2 separate regions of the Homo sapiens genome follow, and region 2 is linked to region 1. The links are contacts of gene promoters, found by promoter capture Hi-C in blood cells and fetal thymus (Javierre and others, 2016). All regions are on one chromosome and are shown on one strand. The core of a region is centred on a gene start or on the middle of the fragment in contact, and the rest is flanking DNA. Distances in the headings are between cores, read along the strand shown. Region 1 holds the start of NEB (nebulin). Region 2 overlaps CACNB4 (calcium voltage-gated channel auxiliary subunit beta 4).

Region 1 (3,928 bases), core at 1-2,500:
TTCCCAGCACAGAAATTATCTTATGACATTATAAAAATAGAATTTGAAGCTAAACTATTGTACAAATTCATATATTGTTGCAGGCTAAAGGAGAGAAGACATTTAAAATACAAGTATAAACAGCAGAAGCTTCAAATTTCTTTCTCTTTATTCCTTCAGTGTTGGGAATTGCTACTTCTACATAATCAGTTTAGTTAAAATTGTAAAACGAAATTGAGGTAAGGAAGTGAGAGAGTTTGGACTCAGGGAACAGAGAATTTAAACTTCCAAACACTTAGAGAAAAGACATTTTCCAGCAAAAATTTTAGTGAAAGGTCAGCTTGGGTTTCAGAAGAAGCTGAAATTTATCCCCCAGCACCAAAATTCTAAGAGGGCTGACTTAGTTTTCCATACTGCCCTGATCCACTGTTTGCAATATATCTTAGGCTTCAAATTGGAACCCATAAAAATACATCTGTCAATAAATTTTAAAAGAAAAAAAGAAACCTCAAGGCAATGGGGTTATTTTCTTCCCGAACACCATTGGCTTATACAGACTTTTTCTTTCGTTTCTGTAGCTCTCGTTCAAACCTGAAAAATAACAAAGTTGTAAAGCATTGATTGAGGTACATATAGGATTGTCAGTCCTTAGCCTAAGCTTCTAATGCAGAAAACAGCGAAAGGATCTCTCAAGGCCTCTACAGTTTGACGCCAGAGAGTAAGACTCTTGATATGAAGTGGATGATGAGTTGGAACAGCTGTCCCTTCATCCAAAGATGTTTGCCATGTAAACCAATACCCTGCAGTGGCTGGTTTTGTTAAGCTAGCGAAACTGCCACTCCTCAGGCAAATGAAGCCCAGTAGAACAGGATAAATATAGGAACGTAGAGCAGCGTATCTTCTTTTTCACACTAATATATTTAGAGAAAAATATCAAAGGCAAAAAAATGTTAGACAAGAGAGCCAATTCAGTCAAGCAATAAATTGGTTAGCAAAGGACTTGACTCTAATCACACACGGTACATAGCAGATATTAGTAGGGCCTTAGTAGGGCAATGGGGTTAAACTCTCCTAGCCATATTTCTACCACTAATTTCCTCAGTTATGGCCCAAACCTTTGAAAAATACTTCGAGGGAAGTTGTGGAGCATCTCCTGAAAGAGTATTACAGAAAAAGTCATAAACTGGCCTTACCTTCAATCTACCAAATAAATTTCCTCAGCAGCAAAGCCTCTCCCAACTCTCCCCTCCTGAGAACCCCAGGCAAAAGCCAGCGTGATGCCTGGGCTCCGAATTATCATGTGGCAAGAGCAACCAATCAGATCTTGAGTTGCTCAAATTTCAGAAGCTAAATTTACCAAGTGATCTTCTGAAAACCACCTGTTCATCAATTCCACTAAAGGATAAAGGGTAACAAATTGCTTGCTTAGAACAATTCAAATGGAATCAAATTTTACCTAACTTCCAGCCTGTGCAGTTCAATTTTAGGTTGAATTTCCCATTTACTGAGGCCCCATTCAATGTCATATTCATGCAAAAGAATTTAGTAGAAAATAAGCATGACTTTGAGAGGCTTTAACCCTTCCGTGACTGCTTTCTTCATGTCATTTGTCCAGTCATGGTGGTAAATGTACTCACTCTGGTAAGGTTCACCAGGTGAGCTACAGGTAAGTTACTGGTGCTAGTGTGAAAGAAACTGAGGAATAAGACCCAGTAAACATCAAGTTGACAAAAGCAATTTTTAAAAATGTGATGAGTGAAGTTAAAGGTGAAAATATTTGACAATGGCACTAAATAAGATATCCACAGGGTGTAATTAGAAAGATTAGACCCCATCATTTTTCTGTTACTAAACCAAGAGGGTATACCAAAATCCTATTTAGCACCTTCTCCCTCCTTAGATAAGGCAAGCTGCTAGGAATACAGAACCTCTCTCATATGTAACCGAGTTAGTGATTTTTCTATTAACTCAGATGACTCCTGGCTCCCAGAAGCAACGTGTGAATGCGGACACAAACAGGCTCAATTTCTGAACAGCAAGAGCAGATAACATGGAAATCAGTAACTTATCAGGAGAAAATAATGCCCTATTTGGCAAATCCGAACGTAAGACATTTCCTTCATAAAAATTATCTAACCATTTTCTTAAAACTTGCCTGATGTCTTTCTTGCACTTTCTTTGCTCCTGAAGTATTTTTTCTAATTTAAAATCTAATTCTATCTGTCTGTCTGTCTGTCCTTACACACAGCGACAGAAATCACAGGCTCTTATGTGACAGAGAACTGCTCTTTCTCTGGGTTGCTCCTGTATTCAGGCAAAACCCTGTGAGTCACCTATATCTTGATATGGATTTGAGATTAAACATATTGTAATATTTTTTCTTTTTTAAGTTAAACATTAGAAAGTAATCTCGCTGGGCGTGGTGGCTCACGCCTGTAATCCCAACACTTTGGGAGGCCGAGGCGGGCAGATTGTCTGAGGCCAGGAGTTTGAGAAAGTAATCTCATATTTCAAATACATGTACCTTTTCCCCCTCCATGATTCACATGGTAGTAAATAAAATCTAACAGAATTTTATCATCTTAACTGATTATACCTGTTCATCTTGTATGTTCTCACAGGTCTTATGACCAAAGGATATTTATGTAATATGAGATCACTCACTTGGTAGCTGCAAACTAGAATTGTGACTTACTAGTCATTACATGCTTTAAAATGTGTTGTTGAATTAAAAAATAATACAGGCCCATACTTTAAAAACATAGAGTACAAAATTATATAAAGTAAAAAATGAGCATTGACCTTCTTAGTCATTTTTAAGTTTCAGATATTTTCAATATAGATATTGACATAAATCGATATACTTAATATGCAATAGACATTTTTATGAAACATCACATAAACATATCCTACTCTAATTTCCACAAATAATTCTATTGATTGGATAGAGTATAATAGTTTAATCATTATTAATGGACATCTAGGTTGTTTCGAGGTTTTTGCTATTACAAAATAAAGCAAAACAATGCGAAACAAAACACACAGTAAGCATCCCTGTACATTACCTTTGTATACTTATATGAAATGTATCTGTAAGGTAAATTTCTAGAAATAGAAATACTGAGGCAGAAGATATATGCACATTTTGAAAATTGATAGATATTGTCAAGTTGCCAGTCAAAATCCTTACACTATTTTATGTTTCACTAACAGAGAATGAGGGTTCCTATGTATACACATCTCAATATCCTTAGGGATTATTAGACTGAAAAATCATTACTATCTGAGCTGAATGTGTCCCCCCAAAATTTATATGTTGAAGTCCTACCCCCCGATGTGTGGAAAGTGATTGGGTCATAAGGGTGGAGCCCTCACGAATGGGATTAGTACACTTATGAAAGAGGCCCCAGAGAGCTGCCTGGCACTCTCTCTGCCATGTGAAGTTACAGGGGGATGATGGCCAGCCACAACCTGAAAGAAAGTCCTCACTAGAACCCAACCATGCCAGCACCCTGATCTTAGACATCCAGCCTCTAGAACTATGAGAAGTAAATTTCTGTTTATAAGCCATCCAGCTTATATTATTTCTGTTATAGCAGACCAAATGGACTAAGACACTCTTTATACATTACTTTTGAAACCACTATGATAGTAAATAGAAGTGCTACAGATGAGCAGAACCTCAAACTCCATTCATAATGAAGTGTGCATCTAAAAAGTTAGGGTGGGGGGTGGGGCAAGAGTGAGTTCACATGAAATTACCCTGGCTTAGATCTCTTGGGATAAATTCCTCCTAAAAGAAAGCCCCAAAGCCCCTGCTAAACTGGCCTGCTGCAGGTTGCCCTAATAATTTGCAAAGCCATCAGAAGTAAGAGACTCACAGGAGAGCTGGTTATATTCCTACCATGGTTACACAGGGGTGAGTGAACCAGCAAGCAGCTTATATTTA
Region 2 (3,646 bases), core at 713-3,212, 290 kb after region 1:
TTTGCATAGACAACAATGTAATTTTCTTATTGGATAGCCCTAAAAAATGGCACTAAAAGATTATGTATTACTTTGGCTTTGAATTGTGAAACAAAGCAGTAAGAAATACTTGCCCCAATAGTTGCTTACTAACATAGCATACCAACTATGATAGGGATCCACAGCATCATTGTATATTTCCCCACAAGCAAATCATTACACAATGGAAGGCTGCTACACCCTTAGGGACTTGCCATTGTTTGCAACAATATGGTGGGCATCACACATTTAAATATTGCAAAACCAGGGCTAGGCGTGGTGGCTCACGCCTGTAATCCTAGCACTTTGGGAAGCCAAGGTGGGCAGATCACCTGAGGTCAGGAGTTCAAGACCAGCCTGGCCAACATGGCGACACTCCATCTCTACTAAAAATACAAAAATTAGCCAGGCGTGGTGGCACGTGCCTGTAATCCCAGGTACTCGGGAGGCTGAGGCAGGAGAATCACTTGAACCTGGGAGGCAGGGGTTGCAGTGAGCCAAGATCACACCACTGTACTCCAGCCTGGGCAACAGAGTGAGACTCTGTCTCAAAAAAATAAAAATAATAAATAAATTTTGCAAAACCAGAAATCTGAGGCCCGATATTAACTTTCAACTAATTTGTCATTTTGGCTAAATTATTTGCAAATACTAGCTTATCTATTGCTAGACAGTGAGCAAATTCTATTCTCCTAATCCTACACTACCTCTGAAACCTCTTCTTTCATATGTGTAAATTAAGTTTGATAGCTTTCCTGAAAACAGGAAATTGTTCAAAAGACTTAATTTTTTCTTTCCTGTCATAAAAAGTGTAATAGCTCAAGCTTCAGAGGCGAGAGCTGGGGAACGGTGGAATGAGAACCAAGAAAGACAACGACATTTTCTCTCAAACTGTCTACTTCAGACAACCTTATTCCAGATATGAGCACAAACTGGACTCGCTGCTAGCTCACAGCCTCTATTGTAAGCATAAGAAAGAGCAGAAATAAGACAAATATGCATTGTGCCTTAAATGCAAAGGAAGTGGCTGTAACACTAAAAGAATGATTGCCCAGGGGCCAGATTAAATAAAAAATCTAGGAGTTTGGAATATCTCAAATCATCTATGAAGTACAGAAAATATTTTGTTATTGTGACACAACAGCCTCTCTTCTAAAAGGAAAATAAACTTCAGGAAATTGAACTTCAAAGATGCCACTGTTTCAGTCATCAAAATTGGACATACCGTACTGTGTATTTTAAAGGAATAGTGCCCCCGTGTGGTTTTTGACAAGATTTCAGAAAATGTTCAGCGTTGTCTCAGAAGTCACAGTTACACTTGTTATACAAGAAACAGTGAATTTTTCTTGTGTGGATTTATTTTTAAATGTGATTACAGATGTGTTTGCAGTATAGTAGAAAAACGTCAGAGCTGTGAAGAGCTGTGTTTGCAGCGGGAGGGTTGCTCCATCTATCTCCGTGTTTAGTAAAGAGGATGTGAGAACAGGACGTGCACAGGGCGCCCCCTGCAGGTGCTGATGCAGCCGACACCTCTGGAGGCGCAGGGCCGAGGCCACCACAAGTCACTTGGCATGAATGTCCACAGAGCTTCCTAGGAGCTACCAGAAGTGAACCACATCTCCCCTCTTACCTGCAGTGGGTTCACACACTCTGCCTTTTCTCGTTGTTGTGAACAAACTGACCAAATCCCTTACAGACCGGCCCTTCCACTCGAGCACTGGATCTTACTCCAGGACAGGGCCCCAGCAATTTTCCTCCTTCCCTCCTGAATCTTCAGCGTCTTCCTTTCCACTGGACTGTTTCCATCAGCGTCAACATATAAACATGCTATCATATTAATAAAAACCCTCTCTGGGCTCCACTTCTCTAGTCCCTTTTTTTTTTTTTCTTCTTCTTTGAGACAGGTTCTCGCTCTGTCACCCAGGCTGGAGTGCAGTGGTGCCATCTCTGCTCACTGCAACCTCTGCCTCCTGGGCTCAAGCGATTCTCATGCCTCAGCCCCCTGAATAGCTGGGAATACAGGTGCATGCCACCACGCGCAGCTAATTTTTGTACTTTTAGCAGAGATGAGGTTTCTCCATGTTGGCCGGGCTCGAACTCCTGACCTCAGGTGATCTGCCTGCCTCGGCCTCCCAAAGTGCTGAGATTACAGCCATGAGCCACTGCACTCGGCCTCCACTCCCTTTTACTGCTATAGTACCTAGAAGAATTGTCCATATTAACTGACTCTAACTTCAATCTTTCCATTCTCTCTTGAACCCATTCCAATAAGGCTTTTCTGCTCACTACTCCAGACCAAAACTGGTCTTACTGAGGTCACCAATGGTATCCATATTGTTAAGTCCATTGGGGAATCTTGGGCTCATCTAACTTGACCCATTGACAGCATTTGACACAATTATCTTTCTTTTTTTTTTTTGATACGGAGTTTCACTCTGTCACCCAGGCTGGAGTGCAGTGGTGTAATCTCAGCTCACTGCAACCTCCACCTCCTGGGTTCAAGCGATTCTTCTACCCCAGCCTCCTCAGTAGCTGGGATTACAGGCACATGCCACCATGCCCGGCTAATTTTCGTATTTTTAGTAGAGACAGGGTCCACGTTGGCCAGGCTGGTCTCAAACTCCTGGCCTCAGGTGGTCCGCCCACCTCAGCCTCCCAAAGTGTTGAGATTACAGGCGTGAGCCAGGGCTCCCAGCCACATTCCTCCTTTCTTAGAATCATTTCTTCTGTTGGCTTTCAGGCACCTCCTCCCATTTTTCTGGCCACTCCTTCATCTCCTTTGTATTGTTTCAGCAAATATCTACTGAGAGCCTCTGACTGCCTGGGGCAGTTCTCAGCTGTGGAAATTGGATGCTGAACAAATCAAAGAGCTTACAATCTAGCAGAAGAAACTGTAATTAGATAGATTTTAAATATAAAATCAGGTATTCACAAGTTATGGTCAGGAAAGCCTCCCTGAGTTTTCAAGCTCCTCCCCTGCCACCTCCCCTCCTGACTCACACCAAGGGAAGTGACAGGAAAGCCATGTGCTACCTCTTTGGCTCCAGTGGGAAGCTCAAACCACACAAGCTTTGGCCCCAGCCCAAACCACTGACCACCATAAAAGCCAAAGCCGAGGCGGGCGGATCACGAGGTCAGGAGATCGAGACCAGCCTGACCCACACGGTGAAACCCAGTCTCTACTAAAAATACAAAAATTACCTGGGCTTGGTGGCGCACGCCTATAATTCCAGCTACTCAGGAGGCTGAGGCAGGAGAATCGCTTGAACCCGGGAGGCGGAGGTTGCAGTGAGTCGAGATTGTTGCCACTGCACTCCAGCCCGGGCGACAGAGTGAGACTCCGTCTCAAAAAAAAAAAAAAAAAAAAAAAAGCCAAAGCCAGTTGCCCTTGAGGCTCTCAAGCCATTTTCTAACCTGCCTGAGAGCCTGCCCAGCTCTCCTCAGAGAGCTTCGATTTGTGAGTAACAGATCTTTTTATACCTTCTTAGTGCACAGGTGGCACCCTCAGCCTCAATATCACAACTAAATTTTAGGTCAGAGGTTGACACCTGCTCCCTTCTACAAGGGCAATCACAAGACAAGGATCGCCTGAGCAGAAACCTAATCAAATGAGGGGATGAGGGAAGAG

Evidence for each region. Contacts are between HindIII fragments. The CHiCAGO score rates a contact against its expected background, and 5 or more counts as called.
Region 2: a contact is called between a fragment that was not itself captured here and the fragment with the promoter of NEB in region 1, in 1 of 17 cell types (M1 macrophages). The highest score is 5.6, in M1 macrophages.

What each region holds. Positions count from the first base shown.
Region 1 is chr2:151,733,226-151,737,153 of GRCh38, forward strand. It overlaps NEB (nebulin), which reads right to left and starts at 1,251. Exons shown (of 182, transcript NM_001164508.2): 1 at 1,173-1,251; 2 at 487-570. The HindIII fragment of the contact is 3,549 bases long and covers 636-3,928 here.
Region 2 is chr2:152,024,488-152,028,133 of GRCh38, forward strand. The region is part of intron 2 of CACNB4 (calcium voltage-gated channel auxiliary subunit beta 4); the gene reads right to left. Among named protein-coding and RNA genes, the nearest start is that of CACNB4, 73 kb to the right of the region's middle. RefSeq lists an enhancer at 1,644-1,713. The HindIII fragment of the contact is 2,245 bases long and covers 841-3,085 here.